Regions from separate parts of the Homo sapiens genome. Here regions 1, 2, 4 and 5 are each linked to region 3. Evidence: promoter capture Hi-C in human tissues and cell types (Jung and others, 2019). All regions are on one chromosome and are shown on one strand. Each heading gives the region's core, a stretch centred on a gene start or on the middle of the fragment in contact. The rest is flanking DNA. Distances are from core to core; before and after follow the strand shown. Region 1 has its middle 8.8 kb from the start of ZNF66. Region 2 overlaps ZNF493 (zinc finger protein 493). Region 3 holds the start of ZNF714 (zinc finger protein 714). Region 4 overlaps ZNF626 (zinc finger protein 626). Region 5 holds the start of ZNF429 (zinc finger protein 429).

Region 1 (2,724 bases), core at 210-2,709, 310 kb before region 3:
AAAAGAAAGAACTTCAGAGCTCAAAGACAAGGCTTTTGAATTAACCCAATCTAATGAAGACAAAAAAGAATTTAAAAAATGAACCAAACCTCCAAGAAGCTTGGAATTATGTAAAAAACCAAACCTAAGAATAATTGGTGTCCCCAGGGAAGAAGTGAAATCTAAAAGTTTGGAAAACTTATTTGAGGAAATAACTGAGAAAAACTTTCCTGGCCTTACTAGAGATCTAGACATCCAAATACAAGAAGTTCAAAGAACTCCAAGGAAATTCATCACAAGAAGATCATCACCTAGGCACACAGTCATCAGGTTATCTGAAGTCAATATACAGGAAAGATTTTTAAGAGCTGTGAGAAAAAAGCATCAGGTAACCTATAAAGAAAAACATATCAGATTACCAGCAGATTTCTCAACAGAATCCCTACAAGCTAGAAGGGATTGGGGTCCTATGTTTAGCCTCCTTAAACAAGACAAGCATCAGCCCAAATTTTGTATTCAGTGAAAATAAGCTTCATAAATGAAGAAAGATACGGTCTTTTCCAGACAAACAAATGCTTAGAGAATTCACCACTACCAAGCCACCACTGTAAGAACTGCTAAAAAGTGTTCTAAATCTTGAAACAAAACCTCAAAATACACTGAAATAGAACCTCCTTAAGGCATAAATCTCACAAGGCCTATAAAACAATAACACAATATAAGAGGTATTCAGGAAACTACTGGCACAATGAATAGAACAGTCCTTCACACCTCAATACTAATGTTGAATGTAAATGGCCTAAATGCTCCACTTAAAACATACACAATAGCAGAATAGATAAGAGTTTACCAATAAAATATCTGCTGTCTTCCAGAGACTCACCCAACACATAAGGACTAACATAAACTTAAGGTAAAGGATTGGAAAAAGATATTCCATGTAAACGTACCCTGATACCCTGAAAGCAAGCAGTAGTAGCCATTCTTACATCAGACAAACAAGCTTTAAAGCAAAAACAGGTAAAAAATAAAAAACACAAAGAGGGACATTATATAATGATAAAAAAGGACTAGTCCAATAGGAAAATATCATAATCCTAAATATATATGCACCTAACATTGGAGCTCCCAAATTCATGAAACAATTACTACTAGATCTAAGAAAAGGGATAAATGGCAACACAATAATAATGGGGAACTTCAATACTCTACTGACAGCACTAGACAAGTCATCAAGACAAAGTCAACAATAACAACAAAAAAGGGAATGGACTTAAACTATAACCTAGAACAAATGGACTTGACAAATATTTACAGAACATTCCACACAACAACTGCAGAATATACATTTTATTCATCAGCACATGGAACATTCTCCAAGATAGACACATGATAGGTCACAAAACAAGTCGCAATAAATTTAAGACAATCAAAATTATATCAACTACTCTCTCAGACTGCAGTGGAATAAAATTCAAAATCAACTCTAAATGAACCATCAAAACAATGCAAATACATGGAAATTAAATAAATTGTAGAAATTAAATAAATACATGGAAATTAAATAAATAATTAAATTTAAGATCAACCTGGTTCTGAATGATCTTTGGATGAAATCAAGATTTAAATTTAAAAATTCTTTGAACTGAACAATAATAATGGCACAACCTATCAAAACGTCTGGGATACAGCAGAAGTGGTGCTGAAAGGAAAGTTCATAGCATCAAGTTCTTCCATCAAAAAGTCTGAAAGAGCATAGGTTGACAATGTAAGATAACACCTCAAGGAACTAGAGGCACAAGAACAAGCCAAGCCCAAACCCAGCAGTAGAAAAGAAATATCAAAGATCAGAGCAGAACTAAATGAAACTGAAACAACAACAACAACGAAAATCCAAATGATAAATGAAATGAAAAGCTGGCTCTTAGAAAAGATAAACAAAATTGATAGACCATTAACAGCATTAACCAAGAAGAGAGAAGATCCAAATAAGCTCAATTAGAAATGAAACAGAAGATATTGCAACCGCTGCCACAGAAATACAAAAGATCATTTAGGGATACTGTGAACACCTTTATGTGCACAAATTAGAAAATGTAAAGGAGATGAATAAATTCCTGCAAATGTACAATCCTCCTAGATTAAAAAAAAAACAACTCTGAACAGACTAATAACAAGAAGCAAGATTGAAATAATAATTTAAAAAATTGCCAACCAAAAAAAAAATGTTCAGAACCAGGTGGATTCACAGCTGAATTCTACTAGCCTTTCAAAGAAAAATTGGTGGGGGTAAGGGAGGAGACCACCCCTCATATTGTCTTATGCCCAATTTCTGCCTCCAAAGAAAGAAAAAGTAAAAACTAAAAGGCAGAAATGAAATCCACAAGCAGACAGCCCAGCGCCACACCCTGGGCCTGGTAGTTAAAGATCGACCCCTGACCTAATTGGTTATGTTATCCATACATTACAGACATTGTATAGAAAAGCACTGTGAAAATCCCTATCCTGTTATGTTCCATTCTAATTACCAGTGTATGCAGCCCCCAGTCATGTACCCCCTGCTTGCTCAATCGATCATGACCCTCTCACGCAGACCCCCTTAGAGTTGTGAGCCCTTAAAAGGGACTAGAATTGCTCACTCGGGGAGCTCAGCTCTTGAGACAGGAGTCTTACCGATGTCCCCAGCCGAATAAACCCCTTCCTTCTTTAATTTGGTGTCTGAGGAGTTTTGTCTGTGGCTCATCC
Region 2 (2,700 bases), core at 117-2,616, 340 kb after region 3:
GTGAAGAATGTGGCAAAGGCTTTAATTAGTTCTCATCCCTTACTAAACATAAGAGAATTCATACCATAGAGAAATCCTACAAATATGAAGAATGTGACAAAGCTTTTAACCACTTCTCAACCCTGCCTACACGTAAGATAATTCATACTGGAAGGAAACCCTACAAATATGAGGAATGTCTCAAAGCTTTTTACTGATTCTTATACCTTACTAAACATAAAATAATTCATAAAGGAGATAAATTATACAAATGTGAAGAATGTGGCAAAGCTTTTAACAAATCCTCATCCATTAGTAAACATAAGATAATTCATACTGGAGAGAAAACCTACAAATGTGAGGAATGTGGCAAAGCCTTTAGCCTGTCCCTCCAATTTACTGCACATAAGATAATTTATACTGGAGAGAAGCCCTACAAATGTGAAAAATGTGGCAAACCTTTTAACCAATCCTCAACCCTTACTACACATTAGATAATTCATGCTGGAGAGAAACCCTACAAATGTGAAAAATGTGGCAAAGCTTTTAACCAATTTTCAAACCTTACTAAACATAAGATAACTCATACTGGAGAAAAATCTTACAAATGTGAAGAATGTGGCAAAGCCTTTATCCAGTCCTCAACTCCTAGTAAACATAATTAATGATGGAGAGAAACCATACAACTGTGAAGAATGTGGCAAAGCTTTTAACCAGTCCTCAAACTTTATTGAACAAAATAATTCATACAGGAGAGAAACCCTACAAATGTGAAGAATGTGACAAAGCCTTTAACCAGTCCTCAATTTTTACTAAACATAAGAAAATTCATACTGGAGAGAAACCCTATGATTGTGAAAAATATGGCAAAGGCTTTAACTAGTCCTCAGTTCTTAACACACATACGATAATTCTTACTGCAGAGAAACTCTACAAACCAGTAAGATGTGACAGTGCTTCTGACAACATCTCAAACTTTTCTAATCATAAAAGAAATCATATTGGTGAGAAATCCTAGAAATGTGGAGAATGTAACAAAGTATTTAAATGGTTGTCACACTTGATTATAGGTAATATTCATATTGGAAAAATTTCCTACAAGTAAGAACAATGTGGCAAAGTTTTTAACTAATACACCTTATTGCACAGAAAATCATTTATATTTGAGAAAAATTGTAGAAATATAGACTGTGAAAAAGACGTCAATATCTGCTCACATCTTACTAAACACCAGAGAGTTCATGCTTAATAAAAGCATGATAAGTGCAATTACTGCCAAAAGATCTTTCAGAAAATATTATCCTTTAAAGTGAAGGAGAGTATTTATATTAAAGATGAACATTACAACCATAAAGAGGGTTGAAGTACCTTTACTTGTATCAGATCTTATTGTCCACATTTTGTACTACAGAAAAACTCTGAAGAGGTCACTCAAACTTTGTTCAACATCAGGGAATTTATATTGGAGAGCTGTCTTGCAAATGTAATAAATTTGGGAAAACAAATTTTCAAAAACTACAGCTTAGAAAACACCAGAGTTTATACGAAAATATATTTTCAAAGGTGTAGTAAAAATAAAAAAAATTTTAATCCAAATTTGTCTATGTAAATACCAGAATTTATAGTAGAAATATATGAGGAAGCGACACTTCGAATATTCTACTAAATGAGAGTTCTGAGTATAGAAAATAAAACTAAAGTTGGTAGAAAAATTATTTGTATATAATGTTAAGAGGAGTAAAAGATTTTTTGTAGAATAATAACTATATTCGGATTATACTTTGTTTCTTGAAAAAATTACAGATTTTTTGAAAAGCAAATGATGTAACTCAACTCATTATTTTCTGCTGTTTCTTCATTCTTATTCACTTGTGAAAGCTTGTGATCATTTGTTGCTGCATCAGAGGTATGAGAGATTCTTCTTCATTAGATGGGCATTATTTATGATCTTTTCTATGGATGAGTAAGAATATTAAAATGTAAGATGCATGGTGAAAATCTAAGTGGAGAGGTTCTTTGTGGTTAACTTATACTATTGAGTGATGCACAAGGTAGGTGTTAAGAGTAATATTCTTTTGCATTATGAGAAAACTAGTATATTATTCATATATTTTACTAATTGTACTTTTTTTATTATACTTTAAGTTTTAGGGTACATGTGCACAATGTGCAGGTTAGTTACATATGTATACATGTGCCATGCTGGTGCGCTGCACCCACTAACTCGTCATCTAGCATTAGGTATATCTCCCAATGCTATCCGTCCCCCCTCCCCCCAATTGTACTTTTATATAATAAAATGCAGTACATTTTAAAAAATTTTAAATTCTGTGTGAAGGTAACTGTTTCAACATTTTTAACATGGTAAATATTATTGTGCATTCAATAAAGTGTTGTTATGCCACAAAGATTAACATTTTCCACCTTACCAAATGGCATACGTAAAAGATGGTAACAATATACTATTTGGTAACATCATGGACTAACATCTGTAGTCATCTCTTTTGCCAGTGGCTTCGAACTGCAAATAAGTTAAAGAATATTGTTCTTATAGGTTAAATTTTTATTTTTATTTTAATCATTTAAATTTATTTTTCTTAATTTTTGTGGGTACATGAGTTTATATACTTATGCCATATATGGCATATTTTGATACACAAATACAATATGTAATAATCACATTGGGATACGTGTGGTATCCATCACCTCTAGCACTTATTT
Region 3 (2,700 bases), core at 140-2,639:
TTAAGTGTTATTTACAATTTTTACACTCCTCAGTTAACCTTGGATACAATAATAACTGGTGGTTTTGTGATGGTTTCTTTAGCATTTTATCTATGTTGATTAGTATTTGGAATTCTGTAAAAAAAAATTTCCCTATCCTTTTTTCTTTTTTATTTATTTAAAGTTTTTTGTGTATCAGTGTAAATGCATGGGTATTTATTTATTTGACTTGATTTATTTTATAGGTCAGTGCTCTAATTATTCATTTGGATGCTAACATTGTTCCAGGATGGACCATTGGGAGTTCTTTCAGGCTGGCTCCCTTTGACATGTTCCCATCATTTTTTAAAATTAAAAAAAAAGAAAGAAAAAACATTTTGAGGCTGGGTGCGGTGGCTCACGCCTGTAATCCCAACACTTTGGGAGGCCAAAGCGGGCAGATCACCTGAGGTCAGGAGTTCAGGACCAGCCTGGCCAACATGGTGAAACCCCGTGTCTACTAAAAATACAAAAAATTAGCCGAGCATGGTGGCGCGCGCCTGTGATCTCATCCAGCAGTGCTTTACTTGTAATTATTTTATTCCTGCTGCCGTCTCCTCTTTCTTTGGCCACTATCTGTTCCACCCCCGGAACGGAAGAGAGATGTTGGTAGGGAGAGGCTCTTCCTTCACCTCTGGCAGAAAAGGTTTGCTTGGGCCCTTCACACCGCTGACATCAGAGCTGCACTTCAATGTGGCAGTTATTGGCCATGTGTGGCGCCTGGTCTGAAGTGCGATGCTAGAAAGGTAAAATACAGAGTTAGTTTCAAAGATTTAGTTCCAAATATTTATATACTTTATTAATAATTACATATTTCTCACACATTAAAATGAAAATTTTTTTGATATATTGGGTTAATTAAATTGTTACAATCAATTCAACCTGTTCTTGTTTCTTTTTCAAGTTTGGCTACTAGAAAACTTAAAATTCACATATGGCTCACATTTTATTTCAGAGGATTACCTCCTTTCTAAAATCTCAGCCTGCCTGCTCAAAGACCAGAAAGAAGCCAGGAAGGTCATAAAATCTGAAATTTTAAAATAATTGTTATTATAAAATTATATTTTTTCCTTTGTGAAGAGCCATATATTATTTATAAATGCATATGACTTTACACACAAGTTTAAAGGCAAATTCCCTCTGGGGTGGGCCTGGCTCAGCTCTGGGAGGAAGCCCTGCCTGAGAAGGCTGCAGCCTAGGCTGTCACCCTTTCTTCACTCAGCCCAGCAACTGATCACATCTTCTGTCACTCAGGGCACGAGAAGGTGGGGTTTTAAAAGTTATCCAATCAGCGACGCTGGGTTGGGAACCGTCCAATCAGGCCTGCAGCTGGAGCGGACAGGACGGCTTCGGGGATGTGGCGGGGCCTTTGTCTCTCGCTGCAGCTGGAGCTGCAGGTCTCGCCTTCACTGCCCTGTGTCCTCTGCTCGCAGAGGCCCAGCCTCTGTGGCCCTGTGACCTGCAGGTATTGAGAGATCCACAGCTAAGACGCCAGGTACCCCGGAAGCCTAGAAATGGTGAGAGTGCCGGGTCCGACATCCCGAGAGAGGGGAAGGGGCGGGTTGTAAGCGGTGGGAAGTGGCTGTGGTGGGACTTAGGCCTCCCCGCAGTCAACTCTACAATCTGCGCCCGGAGTTCTCCTTGCTCAGCTCGGCCTCAGTCCCCTTCAGCCATAAGATGGCGGCTGCGCTGACTGCGGGATCCCGGGCGTCCTGTCTTTTCCCTGCGCAGTGACTGGGCCCTGACCTGGAGTCCTCTCAGGGCAGCTCTGGACCCTCAGCGGCGCGTCTCTCCCGGATTGTGCAGGGACCACTGGAGGGTCCCAGGGGTAGAATCCTGACTCGGGGTGCGGGTTTATGAATGGGTCCGTGGGGTTCCAGTTCCTCTTCTGTTGAAAATGTATGGGAGTCACCGTTAAAACACTAAAGCATTTAATCAAAGCGTGATTCAAAAATTGTGGAGCACCCAGCTGTGGTTTGTAATTTATGGTTTATGGGCGGGGCTTGAAGTAAAGACTTTTATAAACAGCATGATGAAGAAAACCAAATTCAGTAATTGGTTAGGTTCAGATACATAGTTTCTTAATTTGTAAAATAAAGGTGAAAATTTCCTGGTTATGTAATTAGATGTTAATTGGCAGTTTATAGTTGGTTAAGGATGAATTTTGTTTCTCTCAATGTAGTAATTTACTAAAAATGCACCTCAGTTAGATTTTTTTTTTTTAAGATGGAGTTTCGCTCTTGTTGCCCAGGCTGGAGTGCAATGGGGCGATCTTGTCTCACCGTAACCTCTGCCTCCCGGGTTCAAGCGATCCAATGCTTCAGCCTCCCAGGTAGCTGGGATTACAGGCATGCGCCACCACGCCCGTCTAATTTTGTGGTTTTAGTAGAGACGGGTTTCTGCATGTTGGTCAGGCTGGTCTCGAACTCCCGACCTCAGGTGATCTGCCCTCCACGGCCTCCCCAAAGTGCTGGGATTACAGGCGTGAGCCACCGCGCCCAGCCAGATTTTTTTAAAAGTAGGAATCCAGGGACTAGAGACACCTCAGTCTAATTTCCCGCCGCTTAATTATTTTCACACTCCATGGGGAACTGATTTTCTGGTGCATTTTTCAACTGTGTCCCAAGCACTGTCTTAAATCTAACCTCCCGTCCCCCATATCTCCAGCCTCACTCTGGCTTG
Region 4 (2,700 bases), core at 51-2,550, 430 kb before region 3:
CTTTCGCAGTATAAGTACTTCAGCCTGCAAATATTGGATAGTTACCTTGGATTATCAGGTTTCTGTCAAAGAAACTGAGTATCATTTAGTCTTTATTATTCTGTATTGCTACCTTTACTCCTATCTTTGTGCTAAGCTTCTGTGTGCTCTTAAAATGAGCTTGTATCTAAACAAATCTGTGTCTACCTTAAAGGAATAAAAATCAAAAAAATAAACTTTTCGGAACCAAAAACAAAGCAATACATCTTAAGTACTTATAATAATCTGGAGTCAGAAAAAATGACAAAACTTTTATTTAGCTGTTGACATGATTTACATATATTTCAAACAAGCAGAGAAAAATATCTACATATATTCTAAATCCCTTAAGAAAAGAGGGAATAGCGGCCAGGCACGGTGGCTCATGCCTGCAATCCCAACACTTTGGGAAGCCAAGGCAGGTGGATCACAAGGTCAGGAGATCAAGACCATCCTGGCAAACATCGTGAAACCCCGTCTCTACTAAAAATACAAAAAAAAGAACAAAAAAATTAGCTGGGCATGGTGGCGGGTGCCTGTAGTCCCAGCTACTTGGGAGGCTGAGGCAGGAGATTGGCGTGAACCCAGGAGGCAGAGGTTGCAGTGAGCCGAGATCGCGCCACTGCACTCCAGCCTGGGTGGCAGAGCGAGACTTTGCCTCAAAAAAAAAAAAGAAAAGAGGGAATAGCAAAATTTTTTTTTGGAACTTTTTGAAGAGTTTGAACTCTTGGACATCTGAAATTAGCACACTGTATGCACTTGAAATAATGTTTACAGGGGAAAAACCAGAAGAGAGAAAGATATATGAAATCCGTAAGTGCACAAGACCAACACAACAGAATAGAGAGCCCAGAAATAATGTCACCCTCCTACACTCATCAGATTTTTGACAAAGCTGACAAGAGGAATATGGGAAGAATTCTCTCTTTAATAAATGGTGCAGGAATAACTACCTAGCACTATGTAGAAGACTGAAACTGGACCCCTTCATTACACCATATACAAAAATCAACTCAAGATAAATTAAAGACTTAAATGAAAAACTTAAAATTATAAGAAACTCTGCAAGATAACATAGAGAATAACATTCTAGATATAGACACTGGCAAAGACTTCATGATGAAGCTACCAAAAGCAATTGCAACAAAAGCAAAAACTGACAAATTGGACCTATTTAAACTAAAGAGCTTCTTCACAGCAAAGGAAACTATAAATAGCTCAAACAAACAACCTACAGAATAAAAGAAAATATTTGCAAACGTTGTCTATGACAAAGGTCTAACATACAGAATTTATTAAGAATTTAAACAAGTTTACAAGAAAAAGGCAAACATCTCATTAAAAAGTAGGCAAATAACACGAACAGATGCTTGTCAAAAGAAGACATACATGTGGCTAACAAGCATTATTAAAAAAAAAAAAAAGGTCATCGCTAGTCATTAGAGAAATTAAAAGAAAAACCACAATGAGATACCACCTCACACCCATCAGAATGGCTGTTTTTCATAAGTCAAAAAATAACAGATGCTGGCAAGGTTGCAGAGAAAAGGGAATGCTTATACTCTTCTGGTGGGAGTGTAAATTAGTTCAACAACAGTAAAAAGCAGTGTGGTGATTCCTCACAGAACTAAAAACAGAATTATCAATTTGACCCAGGAATCTCATAATTGGGTATATAGCCAAAGAAATATAAATTATTATATTATAAAGACATATTCACATGCATGTTCATTGCAGCACTATTCACAATAGCAAAGACGTAGACAGGCCCTGAATGCCTATCACTGGTAGACAAGATAAAGAAAATATGGTATGGTCAGATGCGGTGGCTCATGTCTGTAATCCCAGCATTTTGGGAGGCCGAGGCAGGTGGATTGCCTGAGCTTAGAAGTTTGAGACCAGCCTGGTCAACATGGCAAAATCCTGTCTCCACAGAAAATACAAAATGAAAAATTGGCCAGGCATGGTAATGCATACGTGTGTAGTCCCAGCTACTTGGGAGGATGAGGTAGGAGAGAACTGCTTGAGCCTGAAAGATGGAAGCTAAAGTACGCCAAAATCATGCTATGGCACTCTAGCCTGGGCAATAAGCCTATCTCCAAAAATAAAATAAAATAAAAGATTTAGTAAATACAAAATATGGTACATAAACATCATGGAATACTCTGTGGCCATTAAAAAAAAATGACCATGTCCTTTGCAATAACACTGATGAAGCTGGAGACAATTATTCTTAGAAAACTAATGCGGAGTCCAGGCATGGTGGCTCACGCCTGTAATCCCAGTACTTTGGGAGGCCGAGGTGGGATAATCACCTGAGTTCAGGAGTTTAAGACCAGCCTGACCAACATGGAGAAACCCCTCTCTACTAAAAATACAAAATTAGCTAGGTGTGGTGGCATGCGACTCTAATCCCAGCTACATAGGAGGCTGAGGCAGGAGAATTGCTTGAATCCAGGAGGCGAAGGTTGCGGTGAGCCGAGGTGGCACAATTGCACTCCAGCCTGGGCAACAAGAACAAAAATCCATCTCAAAAAAACAAAACAAAAAACAAACAAAAAAAAGAAAATTAATGCAGAAACAGAAAACCAAATGCATGTTATTATTTATAAGTAAGAGCTAAGTAATAAGAACACATGAACACAAACAGAACAGACACTGAGGCCTAGTTGAGGGGGGAGG
Region 5 (2,700 bases), core at 42-2,541, 420 kb after region 3:
CAGAGCTGCACTTCAACGTGGTGGCTGTTGGCCATGTGTGGCTCCTGGGTGCCTGGAATGTGCCTGGTCTGAACTGCAATTTGCTAGAAAAGTAAAATACAGAGTTGGTTTCGAAGATTTAGTTCCAAAAATATATATAGTGCCTTAATAATTACATATTGCTGTGACCCCAGAAAATCTGAGACATCAGTTAATTTAGAAAGTTTATTTTGCCAAGGTTGAGAACACGCCTATGACATAGTTTCAGGAAGTCTTGAGGACACCTGCCCAAGGTGGTCAGGGAACATATTGGTTTTATACATTTTAGGGAGACATGAGACATCAATCAATATATGTAAGAAGTACATTGGTTCAGTCTGAAAAGGTGGGACAACTTGAAGCAAAGGCAGGAAGACACGAAGCTGGAGGGAGCTTCCAGGTCACAGATAGGTGGACTCAAATTCTTTTGAGTTTCTGATTGGCCTTTAGTTCCCAGCTTGAGTTTTCCTTAGTAATTTTGGGGGCCCAAGATATTTTCCTTTCACATTGCTCACATATTAAAATTATAATACTTTAAACATATTGGGTTAGTTACATTATTACAATCAATTCCACGTGTTTCATGTTTCTTTTTAAAGTTTGGCTACTGGAAAATTAAAAATTCACATGTGGCTCACATTTTATTTCAGAGGACTGCCTCCTTTTTAAAATCTCAGGCTGCCTGCTCAAAGGACCAGAAGCTAGGAAGGTGATAAAAGCTAAAATTTAAAAGTAATTGTTATTATATTCTTTTCATTTGTGACTAGCCATATAGTATATTTATAAATGCATATGACCTTACACACAAGGTTCAATGCAAACACCCTCTAGGGTGGGCCTGGCTCAGCTCGGAGGAAAGCCTGCCTGAAAAGGCTGCAGCTAGGCTGTCACGCTTCATTCTGCCCAGCAACTGATCACCCTCTGTCACTCAGGGCCTGAGAGGGCGGGTCTTAAACATTATCCAATCAGGCACGCAGCTGGAGCGACAGGACGGTTTCCGGAATATGGCGGGGCGTTTGGCTCTTGCTGCAGCCAGAGCTCCAGGTCTCGTCTTCATTTCTGTGTCCTTTGTTCTTAGAGGCCCAGCCTGTGTGGCCCTGTGACCCGCAGATATTGGGAGATACACAGCTAAGACTCCAGGACCCCCTGGAAGCCTAGAAATGGTGAGAGTGCCGAGTCTGACATCCCCAGAGAGGGGGAGGGGCTGGTCGGAACCGTGAGAAGTGGCCGTGGCGGACTTAGGTCTCCCGGCAGTCAGCTCCACAATCTGCGCCCGGAATTCTCCTTGCCCAGCTCGGCTTCAGTCCCCTTCAGCCATAAGATGGCGACTGTGCTGACAGCCGGGCCCCGGGCGTCCTGTCTTCCCTCCGCAGTGACTGTGCCTGACGTGTAGCCCTGTCTGGGGAGCTCTGCACGCGCAATTCCGCAGTCTCTCCCAGATTGTGCAAGAACCATGGGAGGGGCGTCAGGTGAGAATAGTGACTCGGGATGCGGGTTCATGAGCGGGAAGAGCTTTGGTCCGTGGGGTTCCCAGTTCCCATTCTCTCCTATTAAAAATCTATGGGAGTGGCCGGGCGCGGTGGCTTATGCCTGTAATCCCAGCAGTTTGCTGGGAGGCGGGCAGATCACTGAGGTCCGGCATTCGAGAACAGCCTGGCCAACATGGTGAAACCCCCTCTCTGCTAAAAATACAAAAATTAGCCGGATGTGGTGGCAGGCATCTGTAATCCCAGCTATGTGGGAGGCTGAGGCACGAGAATCGCTTAAACCCAGGAGACCAAGATTGTGCCATTGCACTCCAGGCTGGTTGACACAATGAGACTATCTCAAACAAAAAAAAAAAAAAAAAAGGGGAGTCACTGCAAAATATTAAAGAATTTAATTAAAGAGTGGTTCTAAAATTGTAAAGCACCCAGCTGTGGGATGTAGTTTGTGGTCCTTTGGAGGAGCTTGAAGGAAAGACTTTGCGCATGGTACAAAAACGCAAATTCAGTTATTGGTTAGGTAGGGTTACGTAGTTTCTTAATTTCCATCTTCAGCTTACAAAATTTCCTGGTTATGTAATCAGAGCTTAATTCCAGTTAATAGTTAACCCTGTATTTGTTTTCCCCAGTGTAGTAATTTACAAAAAAAAAAGCATTTGAGTTAGTTTTTTGTTTTTTTTTTTTTTTTTTTGAGATGGAGTTTCCCTCTTCTTGCCCAATCTGGACTGCAGTGGCGCGATCTCGGCTCACTGCACCTTCCGCCTCCGTGTTCAAGTAATTCTCCTGCCTCAGCCTCCTGAGTAGCTGGGATTATAGGCAGGCACCACCACGCCCGGCTAATTTTGTATTTTTAGTAGAGACGGGGTTTCTCCGTGTTGGTCAGGCTTGTCTTGAACTCCCGACCTCGGGTGATCCGCCCATCTCGGCCTCCCAAAGTGCTGGGATTACAGGCGTGAGCCACGGCTCCCGGCTTGAGTTAGATCTTTTAAAAGTAGGAATTCAGGGACTACAGCCACCTCAGTCGAATTGCCTACCACTTAACTATTTTCACTCCCTACACAAAACTGATCTTCCCCTGCATTTTTCACAGGTGTCCTAAGCAGGGTCTCAAATCTACTCCCACGCCCCCCATTCCTCCAGCCTAACTCTGGCTTGCAGTAAAATACAAAATTTCCATTTCCTCCTGACAATCCCAAAT

What was found. The method cuts DNA at HindIII sites, captures the fragments that hold promoters and counts their contacts. A contact is called where the count stands out against the background at its distance.
Region 1: a fragment that was not itself captured here is called in contact with the fragment with the promoter of ZNF714 in region 3 in 1 of the 25 tissues and cell types used here (adrenal gland).
Region 2: a fragment that was not itself captured here is called in contact with the fragment with the promoter of ZNF714 in region 3 in 2 of the 25 tissues and cell types used here (aorta and dorsolateral prefrontal cortex).
Region 4: a fragment that was not itself captured here is called in contact with the fragment with the promoter of ZNF714 in region 3 in 1 of the 25 tissues and cell types used here (H1 embryonic stem cells).
Region 5: a fragment that was not itself captured here is called in contact with the fragment with the promoter of ZNF714 in region 3 in 1 of the 25 tissues and cell types used here (dorsolateral prefrontal cortex).

Annotation. Positions count from the first base shown.
Region 1 is chr19:20,766,145-20,768,868 of GRCh38, forward strand. No RefSeq gene overlaps it. Among named protein-coding and RNA genes, the nearest start is that of ZNF66, 8.8 kb to the right of the region's middle. The HindIII fragment of the contact is 4,061 bases long and covers 1-2,724 here.
Region 2 is chr19:21,425,191-21,427,890 of GRCh38, forward strand. It overlaps ZNF493 (zinc finger protein 493), which reads left to right. Exons shown (of 4, transcript NM_001076678.3): 4 at 1-2,387. Among named protein-coding and RNA genes, the nearest start is that of ZNF493, 29 kb to the left of the region's middle. The HindIII fragment of the contact is 5,489 bases long and covers 1-2,700 here.
Region 3 is chr19:21,080,814-21,083,513 of GRCh38, forward strand. It overlaps ZNF714 (zinc finger protein 714), which reads left to right and starts at 1,390. Exons shown (of 5, transcript NM_182515.4): 1 at 1,390-1,535. RefSeq lists an enhancer at 1,729-1,878. The HindIII fragment of the contact is 9,806 bases long and covers 1-2,700 here.
Region 4 is chr19:20,655,256-20,657,955 of GRCh38, forward strand. All of the region lies in intron 1 of ZNF626 (zinc finger protein 626), which reads right to left. Among named protein-coding and RNA genes, the nearest start is that of ZNF626, 5.0 kb to the right of the region's middle. The HindIII fragment of the contact is 8,024 bases long and covers 1-2,700 here.
Region 5 is chr19:21,504,594-21,507,293 of GRCh38, forward strand. It overlaps ZNF429 (zinc finger protein 429), which reads left to right and starts at 1,009. Exons shown (of 4, transcript NM_001001415.4): 1 at 1,009-1,181. The coding sequence starts at 1,179. RefSeq lists enhancers at 790-1,392, 1,008-1,327, 1,338-1,697, 1,393-1,994. The HindIII fragment of the contact is 8,511 bases long and covers 1-2,700 here.